2 separate regions of the Homo sapiens genome follow, and region 2 is linked to region 1. The links are contacts of gene promoters, found by promoter capture Hi-C in blood cells and fetal thymus (Javierre and others, 2016). All regions are on one chromosome and are shown on one strand. The core of a region is centred on a gene start or on the middle of the fragment in contact, and the rest is flanking DNA. Distances in the headings are between cores, read along the strand shown.

What was found. The method cuts DNA at HindIII sites, captures the fragments that hold promoters and counts their contacts. A CHiCAGO score of 5 or more calls a contact.
Region 2: a contact is called between a fragment that was not itself captured here and the fragment with the promoter of MTCL2 in region 1, in 2 of 17 cell types (M2 macrophages and endothelial precursors). The highest score is 5.0, in M2 macrophages.

What each region holds. Positions count from the first base shown.
Region 1 is chr20:36,858,953-36,866,197 of GRCh38, forward strand. It overlaps MTCL2 (microtubule crosslinking factor 2), which reads right to left and starts at 4,586. Exons shown (of 15, transcript NM_080627.4): 1 at 3,706-4,586. The coding sequence starts at 4,392. RefSeq lists silencers at 4,186-4,335, 4,406-5,295. The HindIII fragment of the contact is 4,947 bases long and covers 3,444-7,245 here.
Region 2 is chr20:36,800,617-36,807,861 of GRCh38, forward strand. It overlaps MTCL2 (microtubule crosslinking factor 2), which reads right to left. Exons shown (of 15, transcript NM_080627.4): 9 at 5,237-5,341; 10 at 4,119-4,286; 11 at 2,240-2,491. Among named protein-coding and RNA genes, the nearest start is that of DSN1, 30 kb to the left of the region's middle. The HindIII fragment of the contact is 7,378 bases long and covers 1-7,014 here.

The DNA of each region.
Region 1 (7,245 bases), core at 3,336-5,835:
GGTAATTTTTGTATTTTTAGTAGAGATGGGGTTTCGCCACGTTGGCCAGACTGGTTTCGAACTCCTGACCTTAGGTGATCCGCCCGCCTTGGCCTCCCAAAGTGCTGGGATTACAGGCGTGAGTCACTGCGCCAGGCCCCATCACCTTTATTATACAGATGAGAAAAAAAGCAGCTCAGAGAAGCCAGGTAACTTGCCCATGGCCACACAGTAAACGGGAGAGTCAGGTTTCAAAGTCAGGTCTTCAGACTCCAACTCTCAGATTCCTCCATCCACACCCAGTGGGTTCCTACATGTTCTGGCCACATGGTACGTGCTTAATGGTTAGTGGTGATGAAAGGCTGGAAGACCTCAGATCACCGGGTCTTTGAAGGTCTCAGGTGACGTGTCTGCTCGGCAGCTAAAGCTGCATCTTAGAATCCTGGCACCTCAGTAGTTAATAACCTTCAGACTTCCTTGGCTAGAAGGGACCCAAGGTCAGGCAGCTCAACTGCAGCCACCACATCAATCTCCCTCTGAACCCTTCTCAAGCAATCATTCCACAAACCCTCTATCTTTATCCAAGCATGCAAGGTCATCCCGCCTCTCTCTGAATAATTAAAGTGACAGTGAGCTCACTACCTTCTCTGTAGAAGCTCCTTCTATCTTCTCACTGGGAGAGAGTTGCCCGATTTATGCTTTCCTCACTTGGACCCCAGAGCAGACCATACCAGACTGGAGATCACAGTCCTTCGCAGTTGACAGTTCCCAGTGACCCCTACAAGGGGGAGGTAAGCCTGAGCAGGGCCACCCACCAGACCTGGTGGGACCTCCTTCAACTCTGCTCCTGCAGGGGACATACTGGGGATTTGGAGTCCTTTCCCTTGTACTCAGTTTCTGCATCTTAGAGGCAAAGTAGTCCAGAAAGGCAGAAAACACATCAAGAGTCTAACACATGCTTACTCCAAGCCCTGGCAGCCTAGCGACCCTGCTCTGGGACCCACTCTGGCCACAGTTTTCCCATCTGTGGAATAAACAACACAACACCTCCAGTAATAACCCCTCTATTTATGGTCCACATTTAGTCTCTGGATTTTGACCCTGCCTCTGTGAGGCTGGCGGCTGGGATAAACAGATATACAGAGAAGTTAAGGGACTAACCCAAATGTACACAGTGAGAAGTGGCATGGGCTGGCCTTGCTCTCCTCTCTTACCCACACTCCTTCCCCTCTCTGGCCTTAGCGCTGTTCTTGAACTCAACGAGCATTCCAATTTCCCTTAGCCTGAAATCTTCTTACTCCAGACCCTCACTCAGTTGGCTCCACGGCATCCTGCAGCCCTCAGCCTCCCTGTGCACCCCAGCCCCCACCTTCGTGTGCTCCTGGCAAACTGTCCCCTTTACCCTCATTATGATCTGTGTTGTGATTTCTTGTATGACTATTGTTTAATTCTGGTCTCCCCAAAAGCTCTATGAAAACAGACACCTCATCCTCCCTTGTCCACAGCTGTATCCCAGATCTGCCCTAGCACACGGCAGGTTCTAAATAAACAGCTGCCGAATGAACCAATGAGGGGCCAGGAGAAAGAGCCCAGCCTGCCTTGGGTGATGAAGAGGATCTATTCTGCCCTCACAGAATCCACAAGAGAACAGGCTGGGTGCACATGGAAACATGTCCCGTGCCTCTGACAAGAGCAGTGATCAGAGGTTTACTACATACCAGGTGCTCTAATGGTGTTTGCAGGAATCAGCTCATTTAACCGTTGAGGTTGGAAAGCGTGTTACTGTCCCATTTTTACAAATGAGAAAGCAAAGGTCCAGGGCCTTTAAGTAACTTGCCAAAGATCACGCCGTCAGGAAGCGACAGACCCCAGATCCAATAGCAGCACGAAGCCTGAGCCACTGAATGAATGGTGGAAATTACGGTTCCATCTTGGCCCAAACGTGGGATGTCCCCAGCTGGACCCCGGCCCCTGTGAGATCCCGGGCTCAACCCCCAGCCTCCTGGGACTGTTTTCCCCTTTAAACAGTCATGGGTGCCTCAAACAGACTTTGGGTCAGAGCCTGATGACTTCCTGGGATGGACAGGGGCCCATGGAGATGGGTGCCTAGGAGCCCTGAAGCAAAGCTCTGCAACCCATCCCCCTTCACCAGAGTGAGTAGCAGGAACCGGGAGGCAGGGGTGAGGAACTCAGAGTTTCGGTTAAGGCCAATTCAGGCAGCACTCACTGGAAGCAGCTCAGAGCACCAAGAGGGCAGGAGCAAAAGACCCTTGTCCTGGCTCGTCACCTCCCTCCTCCTCCTCACCTTCCACTTGCCCTCTCCTTACCACCGGCTTCTGAAGACTCAAAGAGCCGACTGAACTCCCAGTTGCCAACACCGAACCCGGCCCTTGGGAAGACATCCTCCCATTTAACGGATGAGGAGACTGAGGCCTGGCTTGGGGAAAGGTGTCTCTTGATTCAGACAGACCTTGTCCTTCCATACTACAAGCATTTACAGAACTCAGGCTGGAGAGCAGATCCCGGGGAAAATGGGGAGACAGAGACATAGTTGAGCAAGACACCAACACTCTAATGAGGGAGAAGCCCATTTGGTCAGAAGAGCCACAAGGAAAAGTTAAAACCTAAGTGCTGAGGGCAGACATAAACCAGCAGCATGCTGTGAGCTCCACAGCCAGGGGCACTCTGGGTGTTGTGCCAGGCCATCATCCACTGACAAGAGTCGGCAACATTTCAGCCTCCTCCAAAACCGTGCCCAGCCAGCGGCAGGAGAGCTCAGGAAGCTTCCAGCCTCCCAGGGAGAGGTCAACACGTGCAAGCTGGGCTGTCCCTAAAGCTGCCATGGCACCTGGAAGCGTGCAGATGGAGCCCGGCTGGCACCCAGTAGGTGCTCATGTCCACTGAAAAAGCAAAGGCAAAGCCTGCTGTCCGGGGGAAGCCCTAGGGTCCCCACATGGCCACAGGGAAGTCCTGTTCCAGGTGGGCAGTTGCCCTCCTCTCACTGCGAACATGGAAAGGCACTGGCCACGAGGGGCCAATGGGGCTGTTGTGTGCACAAGGTCTGCCCCAGGGAGGGCAAAAGACACTGTCCTGGGATTTAGGAAGCTGCCTCTGAACCGGTTCTCCCACGACATCATCCTCCAGGCTGTGGGACCGTTAGGCTGGGCGGAAGTGGACTCCAGCCAAGGGGATGTTCCCAGATGTCATGCTTTCAAACTGGACCCGCCCAGAAAGGCAGGCAGAGACAGGCCTGCGCCCGGGAAAGCCCTGGGTAACGACTCAGGATGGCATTCAGGCCTTTCCTGGGCAGGGGATGGCCACAGGTTTCCCTGGCGGCGGTGTCTATCAATCCCGTCCCAAGAAGGAGAGCCTGGGCGTGGAGGTTCTGGGCAGCTGAAGGCAGAGATCCATCCCTTCCCTGGCTACCCACCCCCACCTCAGCAACGCCTCCCAGAACGCTCCAAAGCTTTCTCAAGTCCCCGCTCCCAGGTTAGGGCCCTGTAGCCAGTTCCAAGGTCTTTTTCAGGAGCGCGCTTCCCAAATAAAGTTGAGAGGGGGCGGGGGGAATGAGGGAGCCCCAGATCCACCTCAGAGTGGTCCCCAGAGGGCTTGGGCCCCTTTCTCCGGATTGTTCAGTGGGAAGGAGGGCCGGCTGGTGCCTCAGGCCCGCGGGACTGTGACAGCCGGCGACCCCTGCGACCTCCCTTTCTACCCGGGCGCCCCCACCTTGAGATAGTCGTTCTCCGAGCGCAGCTCCTCCAGCTCCCGCACCAAGCCGCTGGGCCCGCAGTCCAGCATCTCCTCGGTGAGGTCGGAGAAGGCAAGCGAGGCGCTGAGCGGCAAGCGGCTGCTGCCCACCGACGACGCGGCCACCGACGGCTCGTCCGGGGAGGCGGGCGGCCGCGGGGGCTGCTGCGCGGAGGGCGCGGGCTGGGCCGGCTGCCCCGTACGGACCCCCGCCGGGCCCCCGGCCGCGGACTCGGCGTCGCTGCTCAGCGCCAGCTCCAGGCCCAGCAGGCGCGCCTCCTCCGACGCGCAGTCCGACACCTCCGAGCTGCTATCCGTGAGGCTGGGGGGCGGCGGTGGCGGTCGCGGCCCCGCACCCGAGCGCGGACGGCCCTTGGCACGGACCCCGGTGCGGACCCCGGCCACCCGCACACCCGCACCGCGCGCCCCGGGAGCCACTGCGCGCCCCTTCTTGTCCGGCCGTGAGGAGAACGCGGCGCTGCAGGCGACTGCTGAGCCCGGGCCTGGGCCGCGGCGGCCCTTAGCCAGCGACCAGCCGGCCACGTCTTTGGGCCGGGCCGGCGACGGCGCGCGGTGGCTCTTTTTCCTCTCCGGGGCAGGCGCGGGTGCAGGCGCGGGCTGGGGACCGCAGCCCCGGACCGGGGGCTCGGCCGCCGGCGCCTCCATCGCGGCCTCCCTCGGCCTCAGCGAGCTGCGCGCATGGCCCAGGCCCGCCCGGCCTCGACGTCCCTGGGGAGGGACCCGGCGCGGCTCCGGCCGCTGGGGCTGCGGCTGCTCTCGGCCCACCTCGGCCCCGACACCGCGTCCCCGTCCCAAGCCCCGCCGCGCGGTCTCTCCGCTGCTCTGGGCTCGGAGAGTGCGGCCCGACCGCCTCCAGGCGCCCCGGCTCCGGCTGCGGCTCCGCCCGGCGCCCGCCCCCTCGGCCTCGCCGCGCCCCCGGAGCGCGCCCGGGCCCCCGCCGCCCGCACGCCGATCGCTCCCTCGGGCTCCGAGTCCGGCTGCGGCCCGGGCCCCGGCTCCGCCCGGCGCAGCCCGCCCCCCGCGCAGCCCCGCCAGCTCCCCGCCCCGCCGCCTCGGCTCGGGGGCGCGCGGTTCCGCGAACAAAAGGCGGACGCGGCGGGAGCGGCAGGGAGGGACGCAGGCAGGGAGCGAGGGAGGGATCTGCGAGGCAACAGCGACCCCTTCGAGGGTCAGGCTGGCGCGGGCAGCCGCGGCCCGGGCTCCCTCCTCCTCCGCTCCGCCGCCTCCTCCCCTGCCCGCTCGGGGAAGGCACCCGGCGGAGGCGCCCCTGCGCCCGGCGTCCGGGCAGGGCCTGCGAGAGCGGCGGGAGCCGGGACTCCCGGGCCGAGGCCGGGCGGACCTCAGTTCGCAGGAACCCGCATCCATGCACGCCCAGCGCCTCGCCCCTCGCCCCGTGCCGAGCGTGCGCGAACTCCGCCCCCTTAGCCGGCATCGCCGGAGCCGCGATCCCATCGCACAGATGCGTAAACTGAAGCCTGGGGTGCACGCGCCAAGCTCACGGTCTAGGCGGCGCCGATGGGACCCAAAGCTCACACCTCCCGGGCGCGCTCGGGCTCCCCCTGCCTCGGCTTCCCTCTCCTGGCATAGGGACCGTGAAGCCCTGTGTGCATGCCTGGCTCGCGCACCTTGACCGGCGGATATTTCTCCCCATGCGCCCCCGACCCGGGTTTCAGGCTCTGTACGGCTAAAATGGAAGCGACCCGTAGCTAGGCGCGGTGGCTCATGCCTGTAATCCCAGCACTTTGGGAGGCCGAGGCGGGTGGATCACGAGGTCAGGAGTTCGAGACCAGCCTGACCAACATGATGAAACCCCGTCTCTACTAAAAATACACAAATTAGCCGGGCGTGGTAGCGCGTGCCTGTAATCCCAGCTACTCGGGAGGCTGAGGCAGGAGAATCGCTTGAACCCGGGAGGCGGAGGTTGCAGTGAGCCGAGGTCGCGCCACTGCACTCCAGTCTGGGTGGCAGAGCTAGACTCCATCTCAAAAAAATAAACAAATAAATAAAAACAAAAATAAAATGGAGGGGACCTATTACGAGATGTCAGCCTAGCGGATGCTTTGGAAGGCGGTTTTGGCCCCCGTGGGGGCTGGCATGGGCTGGGACGGTTGCCCTGACCCCACACGTCCCCACCAGGAGCAGTGCAGGAGGACTTGAGCTCTGATGGGCGTGTTTTCTTTCCTCCCGGGCGTCTGGGCGTCTCCTTGGCTCCTGGCCGTGTTGATTTTCCCATGTCTCTCACACCTTCCCCAGCCCCCACACCGCCTGGCCGCTACGCCCCCATCCCTGAGCCACCGCAGGGCAGAGCTGGATTGAGTGCTTTGCCCCACAGATGTACCCTCGTCCTTAGGGTGCCCCACACCCCTTGCCACCAGAAGGGCAGGGCTGTTTTTGCCCCTTTACAACCTCTTTCTCCTCCTGTTCTCTCCTCCCCCTCCCATTTATCCCCTGCTCTTTCTTCCTCCTTCTTCTCCCATCTTTCCCCTTCCTTTCCCCCCTCCTTTTCCAAGTCTTCCTTTTCCTCCTCTTTCCCCTCTTCTTCCTCCTGCCCATTTTCTCCTTCTTCTTCCTCCCCCAATTCCCTTCCTTCACCTCTGCACCTGCCTGTGACACAGCAGGCACCAGGTCCACTTCTTTGTCTCTGTCCCACCTCCCCCACACGCTGTGAATACACTCCTGGGGCATCCCCTCTCTCCAGAGGCATGACTTCATCTGGATCCAGGTGAGTGAGTGCTCCTCCACCCCAACGCTAGGTGCCCTCCATACGGCCAAGTGAGGAGCAGGCACTCAGCAGGCTCTTGGCAAACACTTCCGCAGGGGCATCCCCACCCCCTCCTAGCAAGACACCAGCTCCCCTCACGGCCCACTGACTGTCCACAAACCCTGTTTGCACAGGCGCCAGGTACACTGAGGGACGCAGTGGTGGGCATGTCAGTGCCTGAACTCATGGAGCACACAGTGTGTGTTGGGGGGGACCACAAAAGACTCAGCACAAACAGGGTGGCATGGCATGTGGGCAGGAGTGCTGGAGAAGGATGTGGGAGCCGCAGGCTAGTGACCCAGGGCAGGCCTTCCCACATTCCGGGCCTCAGAGTCCCCACCTGCTCTGGTCTAATGTAACAGATGACAGGGTCCATCCAGCTCAGATGCCCCTGGCTCTAGTAGGCTGCATCTAGTCTGGCACAGAAAGATGCTGTGAAGCTCTTGGAAAGTGTGTCCTCTCTCTGTGCTTCAGTTTCTGCCCCTGTGCAGAACATAGGTTTGGAGGTGTTGGGTGGTGTGAATGCAGGGACATAGCAGACCAGGCTGGCTCAGCCACTCCTGACACACCCTTGGTCACATCAGTGGTCCTGAGATTAGAGTGGCCTGCATCTCTCTTCTAGGGCAGGGATCTGAGTCCTGGCTCTACCACCTATCCTCTCTGGGCCCAACACTCATGGCTGGCCAGGGAGGGGCCTGTGGGTCCCACCTGCTCTGAGGTGCTTTGGATTTGGGGAG
Region 2 (7,245 bases), core at 2,076-4,575, 60 kb before region 1:
AGGGGTTTCATGAACGTGACCTTGCAAGGCTGTTGAAGTACTGAAGAGAACATTAGGAAGAGGAAATACCTAAGATCCATAAACTCATGAAAAATGCTCACCTTCAGTAGAAGTCAGAGAAATGCAAAGTAAAGCAATGAGATAGCATTTCACACCCTAACTTGGGCAGACATTTCAAAGATTGGTAATCACAGGAACTGGCAAAGATAAAGCAAAAAGGGCCTTCTTGTCCTTCTCACTGTGCAGCTGGCAGGAGGGTACATGGGCAAAGCCTTTCTAGAAGGCGGCCTGGCAGTTACCATCAACTATAAATGCATATGCCCTTGGATTTAGCAATTTCACCTCTAGGAATCTATCCTACTGAAATATTCATGCGTGTGCAGAAATATATGTGTGGAGATGTTCACTGAGGCACAACTTGAACTTTTTTTTTCTTTTTTTAGATACGAAGTCTCACTCTGTTGCCCAGGCTGGAGTGCAGTGGCATGATCATGGCTCACTGCAGCCTTGATTTCCTGAGCTCAAGCAATCCTCCCACCTTAGCCTCTCATGTAGCTGGGACTACAGGCACACATTGCCACAACCAGCTTCAGGTCACAACTTTCAATAGTGAAAAACTGGAAACAATCTAGATTTAATCACTGTAGATAACAAATCATAGTATCTCCACACTAGGAACACCAGGCACCAGTCACACTGAATAAGGAAGGCCTCCATACTCTTGTGAACAGCTCTCCAGGAAAGACACAAAGTATAAATAAATGGACATTAAAATTTGATTGATGATTAAAAAACAAACAAAACAAAACCCTGTAAATATAAATTTAAATAGAAAGAAAGGCCCAGCGACTCGGGAGGCTGAGGTAGGAGGATGGCTTGAGACCAGGAGCTCAAGTCCAGCCTGGGCCATACAGTAAGACCTCATCTCTCATAAAAAAAAAAAACAACTTTTTTTCATTAAAAAAAAATGACAAGAAAGGGAGGGAGTAGGCTGAAATGTACCTTTGTAATATGTGAACATTATATAAAGATGAAGTCCTGATTTACGTAATTAAAATTAAAAGTAAGGCCAGGCGCGGTGGTTCATGCCTGTAATCCCAGCACTTTGGAAGACCGAGGCGGGCGGATCACCTGAGGTCAGGAGTTCGAGACCAGCCTGGCCAACATGGTGAACCCCATCTCTACTAAAAATAAAAAATTAGCCGGGTGTGGTGGCACGTGCCTGTAATCCCAGCTACTCGGGAGGCTGAGGCAGGAGAATCACTTGAACCCGGGAGGTGGAGGTTGCAGTGAGCTGAGATCACACCACTGTACTCCAGCCTGGGCGACAGAGTAAGACTGTCTCAAAGAAAAAATAAATAAATAAAAATAAATAAAATAAAAGTAAGGCCGGGCATGGTGGCTCACTCCTGTAATCCCAGCACTTTGGGAGGCTGAGGCGGGAGGATCACTTGAGGCCAGGAGTTTGAGACCAGCCTGGCCAACATGGTGAAACCCTATCTCTACTAAAAATATAAAAATTAGCCGGCTGTGGTAGCACACGCCTGTAATCCCAGCTACTGAGGAGGCTGAAGCACATGAATCACTTGAACCTGGGAGGCGGAGGCTGCAGTGAGCCGAGAGTGCTCTCTAGCCTGGGTGACAGAGTGAGACTCTGTCTCAAATAAATAGATAAGTAAATAAAAATAAAAGTGAAAGAAAGGGAAAAGTCAAAATCAAGAGTGGAGCAGAGCAGCCTATGGTAGGTGGTGCCTGGCTGCATGAAGTGAACTATAATGGGGAGTGAGGGTCAATGATTGCTTTTCCTTTCCTCCTTCTTTTGATTGGAGGCCTCCCAATTTTCCCATGGGAACCACTCTTAGTTCCTCCCTCTTGGTTCCTGGGTTTGGGTAGGCTCCAGGGGTGGGCACATGACTCATATCTGGCCAATCCACTGTACTTGCTAAGCTGTAAGATATGAGCATGAAACTAACAGTGGCCATATTTGGGAATAGCTTGTTTAAGAGTAAAGCTAACACAGAGGAAAGCAGGCCTGACAGGCTGAAGCAGAAAGAAAAATCTAGTTCCCACTGCATTCTCTAAGTGCCTGGATCCAGCTATACCTGAAGGAGATGGTGTGCCAGACCTCACTGGATGAGCACCTAGATCCAGCTATACCTGAAGGAGTTCCTGCTTCTGAATCATTTCTGTAGCAACTCTCCCTTGCGGGTGGAAGCGGCTTGGCAGGGGTGGGCCTCACCTGGCTTAGGCGGTTCTGCAGCTCCTTCACCTGCTGCTCCACCTGCTGCTTCTCACCCTGCAGCCGCTCCACCAGCTGCAGCTTTTCCTGGCTCCAGTTGCGCTCACTGATCTGCAGCTGCCGAGTCAGCTCCATGACAGCGCTGTAGGACTCAGCTAGGAGGTGCTGCTGCTCCTCACGCTCCCGCTGTAGGGCTGCCTTCCAGTCGGGCCCTGCCCGCTCCCCGGCCCCCTTCCCTGTCTTCAGCTCCATCTGCGGAAAGAAGCAGACTAAGCAGCTGGCAGCAGGAGGCCACTCCTCTTGGCCCTTCTCTCTCCTTCCCTCCTGGGTGCCAGCGGGGAAAAGGGGAGAGGTCCCCTCAGAAGACCCCTCACTAGGGACTAACCCAGCTTAGTCCTCCCCACTCAGAACTAACCCCTAACCCCTCCACACAATAAGGGTTTGAAGAGCTCTTTCTATAAGCCATGCTCTTCTGTGGGCTTTTCAGGCATGATGTCAGTATCCTCATAAAAACTCAGAAAGATTACTAGTGGTCATTCCAGCAAGATGGTTTTCTTGGCCTCAAACCTCAGAGTGGCAGGAAAGGGAATGTGCAACCTTTAGACTCAATGCCCCCCATTAACCCCCATGAGCTGGTCAGGTTCTTGGTGGGAGGAGCACCTGAAATGCCCAGGTCTTTGGGGGCAGCAGGTGCAGGGGACACCGTGGAATATGCAGATGGAGGGAGCTGTGAGATCTGGAAGAGGGTTAGGAGGGGAGAGTAGTGGCCCCAGGAAGTAGCCAGGAGACTGTGAGCAGTGGGAAGAAGGTGGAATTGGGGCCGGGAGTGGTGGCTCACGCCAGTACTCCCAGCGCTTTGGGAGGCTGAGGCCGGCAGATCACTTGAGATCAGAAGTTCAAGACTAGCCTGGCCAACATGGTGCAGCCCCATCTCTACTAAAAATACAAAAATTAGCTGGGCATGGTGGTGTGCCATCTATAATTCCAGTTGCTTTGCAGGCTGAGGCAGGAGAATCTCTTGAACCCGGGAGGCGGAGGTTGCAGTGATCCAAGATTGCACCACTGCACTCCAGCCTGAGTGACACAGTGAGATGCCGTCTCAAAAAAAAAAAAAAAAAAAAAAAAGGAGGTGGAATTGGGGTCACAGGGAGCCAGGGGTTAGAGGTTTGGGGGAGCAAGGGCCAGTCTGACACTTATTAGCCGGGTGACCTTGGGAGATAAATTTAACTCCTCTGTGCCAGTTTTGTCATCTGTCCAGCAGAGACCATCGGAGTGCCTGCCTCCCAGAGGCTGCTGACGCCTGGGAAGGCAGCTTGCAGCAGGGGCAGGCTGGATGGAAGAAGCTGGAGCCCAAGCTGCAGGGTCAGAGCATTCTCTCTGAGTGGGAAGAAGCCCACCCTCTCACTTTTCAGGCCAAAGGAGGCAGCAAGTCACCCTCAGGCACACAGCAGACACCAAACCCCCAGGGCTCCTGGTTAAGGCTCCTTTGGGGGCACGCTGGGGAGTTGGGAGGGGAGGCCCCCATTTTGCGTGGAGGGAGCAAAATAGAGCCAGGCAGTTGGGGCTGAGGGAGTGCTTATGAGGAAATGAAGGAGCAAATGAGGACAGCAGGCAGTGGGGATGTGCACCAGCCTCACCTGTGAGCCCAGGGCGCAATCCCCCACCTTCCTTCCCTTCCTCTGTGACTCCCATTCCCCACCGTTTCTGATACCCTTGCTGTGTGACTTTAGGCAAGTCTCTTGCCCTCTCTGGGCCACAGGTGAAGCAACGGCATTCTTATTCCTCTAGGAGCATGGCCTTGGTATTCTACTCCCAGATCTGACAGCTAAAGGCTTGGCTGAGAGTAAGGGGAGAGGCGTCTGACAGGTGGGGGGCTCACCTGGGAGGTATGGCCCTTGAGCTCTGCCCGCTCTGTCTCCCAGGTAGCCTTGGCCTTGGCAAACTGTTGCTGAAGCTCCGTCAGACCACGGCGTTCATCCCGGAGCAGCCAGCACAGCTCCTTCAGCGTCACCTTCATGTCGGCCAGTGTCTTGATGTACTCATTGGGCTGCAGACAGGAGGCAAAACCTGAGTCAAGAGCCTCTGTGGGGTAGGGAGGGGAACCTGGGTTCAGAGAACTCACCTAGGAGTCCAGCTTGGGACTTCACGAGGCCTCAGGCAAGTCCCACAACCTCCCTAGGTCATCTCACCCATAAAATGGGAATGACAGGCCCAGCCCTGGCTACCTCCTAGGCTGACATGAGGCCCAAATCTGACACCAAGAAAAAACCCTGCAGTTACAGTAATAATTATTCAGCCTAACTCTGAGCTGAATCATCTGGCTTCTTCAAGGCTCTGCAGCGTCTGTGCCGTGGGTCCTTCTCCTCACTCAGGATCTGCCTCTCTGACCCGCTGCAGGCCAGATGTGGGGTCTAATTCATGGAGACTCCCTCAGTTTGCCTGATTCTGTCCCAAATCTTCTCTCCTGGGCCCATGCCCTCATTTCCCATCCCTACCCCAGCTCACCGTGTGTGACCCTGGGATCCTGACCCCACTGTTCTCTCTGACTTATGGCTTGATTTGAAGGTTCCTGACCCTAGACCACAAGGCCCCTCTTCAGATGACTCTAGCCTGATATCCTTACCCTTACCATGTACCTCCCAAGCCATACTCAATACCAGAACACCTTGCCACACCTTGGCACACAGAGTTCTCTTGGTCCAGAATAGTCTTTCCCCTATTCTCTATTAGGTAAACTCCTATACATCCTTCAAAACCCATCATCCATGACCCCTTCACCGTGATATTGTCCCCTATACTGCAAAGAGAATTACTTGCTGTCTTGCCTATGACCCCACAGTCCATCATCTGGACTCTGTTACTGCCCTGGGATGACCAGGCAATAACTTGCAACTTCAATGTCCAGGAATGGGGTCAGAGAAAGCAGTAGGAATTGATTACTGAGCAGACAAAGGAATGAATGGACACAACAGGACCGGGAAGGGGCTGGAAACACACCGTGTTCTGGGTCCAGCTGTCCCCCGTGCAGGCCTTGTTATCAGAATGCTGAGCGTTTATCTCCTCTTCCTCCATCAGCAAGTACAGCTCCTTCATGCTGTTCACCTGTTTTTTAAAAACCATGCTTAACAGCAGGTGGGAAGTTTTCCCAAATTTTAATTCCAACCTTGGGCACCATGTAGGTCGAGGAGCACGGCTGGATAGTCAGGCCCTCCTAGCCTCCCACGACATCTATTCTGCCCCAAAGACCAGGAAGCATCCCTGAGAGTCACTCTGAAATAACCATGTTGACAGGCTGGGTCAAGGCAGGCACTGTGGTTGAAATGAAAAGGCCACACGCACTCCCACAATGCTACATAAGGGTGACCAAAGGTTTGGGTGGACAGAAGGGACCTTGCTGGGGGGTTGGACTGCTTGCTGATAGATTCTGGGCAAGAGTCCAGGGCCAGCCAAGGAGATCAGGGACCTAGTTCAGGATGGAAATAAGACAAAAGGGAGCGAGTCACCTTCTGTGCTCAAGCAATCCTCCTGCCTCAGCCTCCCAAAATGCTGGGATTACAGGCGCGAGCCACCATGCCCAGCATGATTATGTTTATATCTTATTAATTATGCTTATTTTGGTAAATGTATATATTTCTTAATTATATATGTTATGTAATTTTCTGTGTCTCTTTATTTTTTTTTTGAGATGGAGTCTCACTGTGTCATCCAGGCTAGAGTGCAATGGCATGCTCTTAGCTCACTGCAACCTCTGCCTTGCAGGTTCAAGAGATTCTCTTGCTTCAGGCTCCTGAGTAGCTGGGACTACCAGTGTGCACCACCGTTCCCAGCTAATTTTTGTATTTTTAGTAGAGACAGGGTTTCATCACGTTGACCAGACTGGTCTCGAACTCCTGATCTCAAGTGATCTGCCCACCTTAACCTCCCAAAGTGCTGAGATTACAGGTGTGAGCCACTGCACCTAGCCAATTTTCTATGTTTATGCCCTAATTTTTTTTCCCTAAAGTAAGTTTCTCTCTCTTTTACTCTAGGATATGGAAATGGCTAGAAAGGTTTTCACCAAATGTGGAGGGTTCGTCTGAGACAAACTGACTTAAAATATAGACTGTGTGGCCTGCAGGTCATTCCCTTAAACTGGGCTTCATCCAGAGGCCTGTGAGACTTCCAAACAGGTGAGAGGGCTCCTATGTTTCCAAACGTCACAGAAGAGACAGCTTCGGACAGGAGGACCGAGGCGAATGCTCCCAGGGGCGGCCCTGTGTCAGGCACTGCAGGGCCAGGGCAGCAGGGTGTGGGCCTATGGAATGGCGGTAGTGACTCTCCCATGAGGCCCTGGGGAGGAGCTGGTGGCCTGCGAGAATGATGAGCCCCACTGAGATAGGGTGATGCAGGGTCTTGCTACACACTCAGGTCTAACTGTCTTGCCTGGCTCCTGGGGCATCTGGGCTCCTCTGGAGTACCCCTGATGGCGTAAGTGGCAACTTGAGGCATGCCAATGCTCCCTACTGGATCTGGACAGGGGACTACAGAGAGCAGCCTGGACTAGAGGAGGGCCAAGCCTGGGCTAGACTCGAGGTACCTGAACCCAAAAGGACACGGCCAAAGTGAACAATGTCAACTAAGATGAGTGTGACCAAGGTCTGACATCCTTGTAAGTCCCCTTCTCTTCCCTGATGTGTTGATGTGTGCTGCTGTGCTGATGACAGGACGCAAGGGCTTTGAGCAGCAAAGGGTCCTGCATAGACTGGGGCATGAATGGGTCAGGTGGGTCCTTTCTAAGCTTCTTACATTCCCAGAGCTCCGCCCCCACGTTTCCTGCCACATCCTAATACCACCTGTACTATCACCAATGTTTTTAAGCCAGCCTACTCCCTCTTGTTAAGTAAACATATCTTTTGGCCAGGCATGGTGGCTCATGCCTGTAATCCCAGCACTTTGGGAGGCCAAGGCAGGTGGATTACTTGAGGTCAGGAGTTTGAGAGATCAGCCTGGCCAACATGGAGAAACCC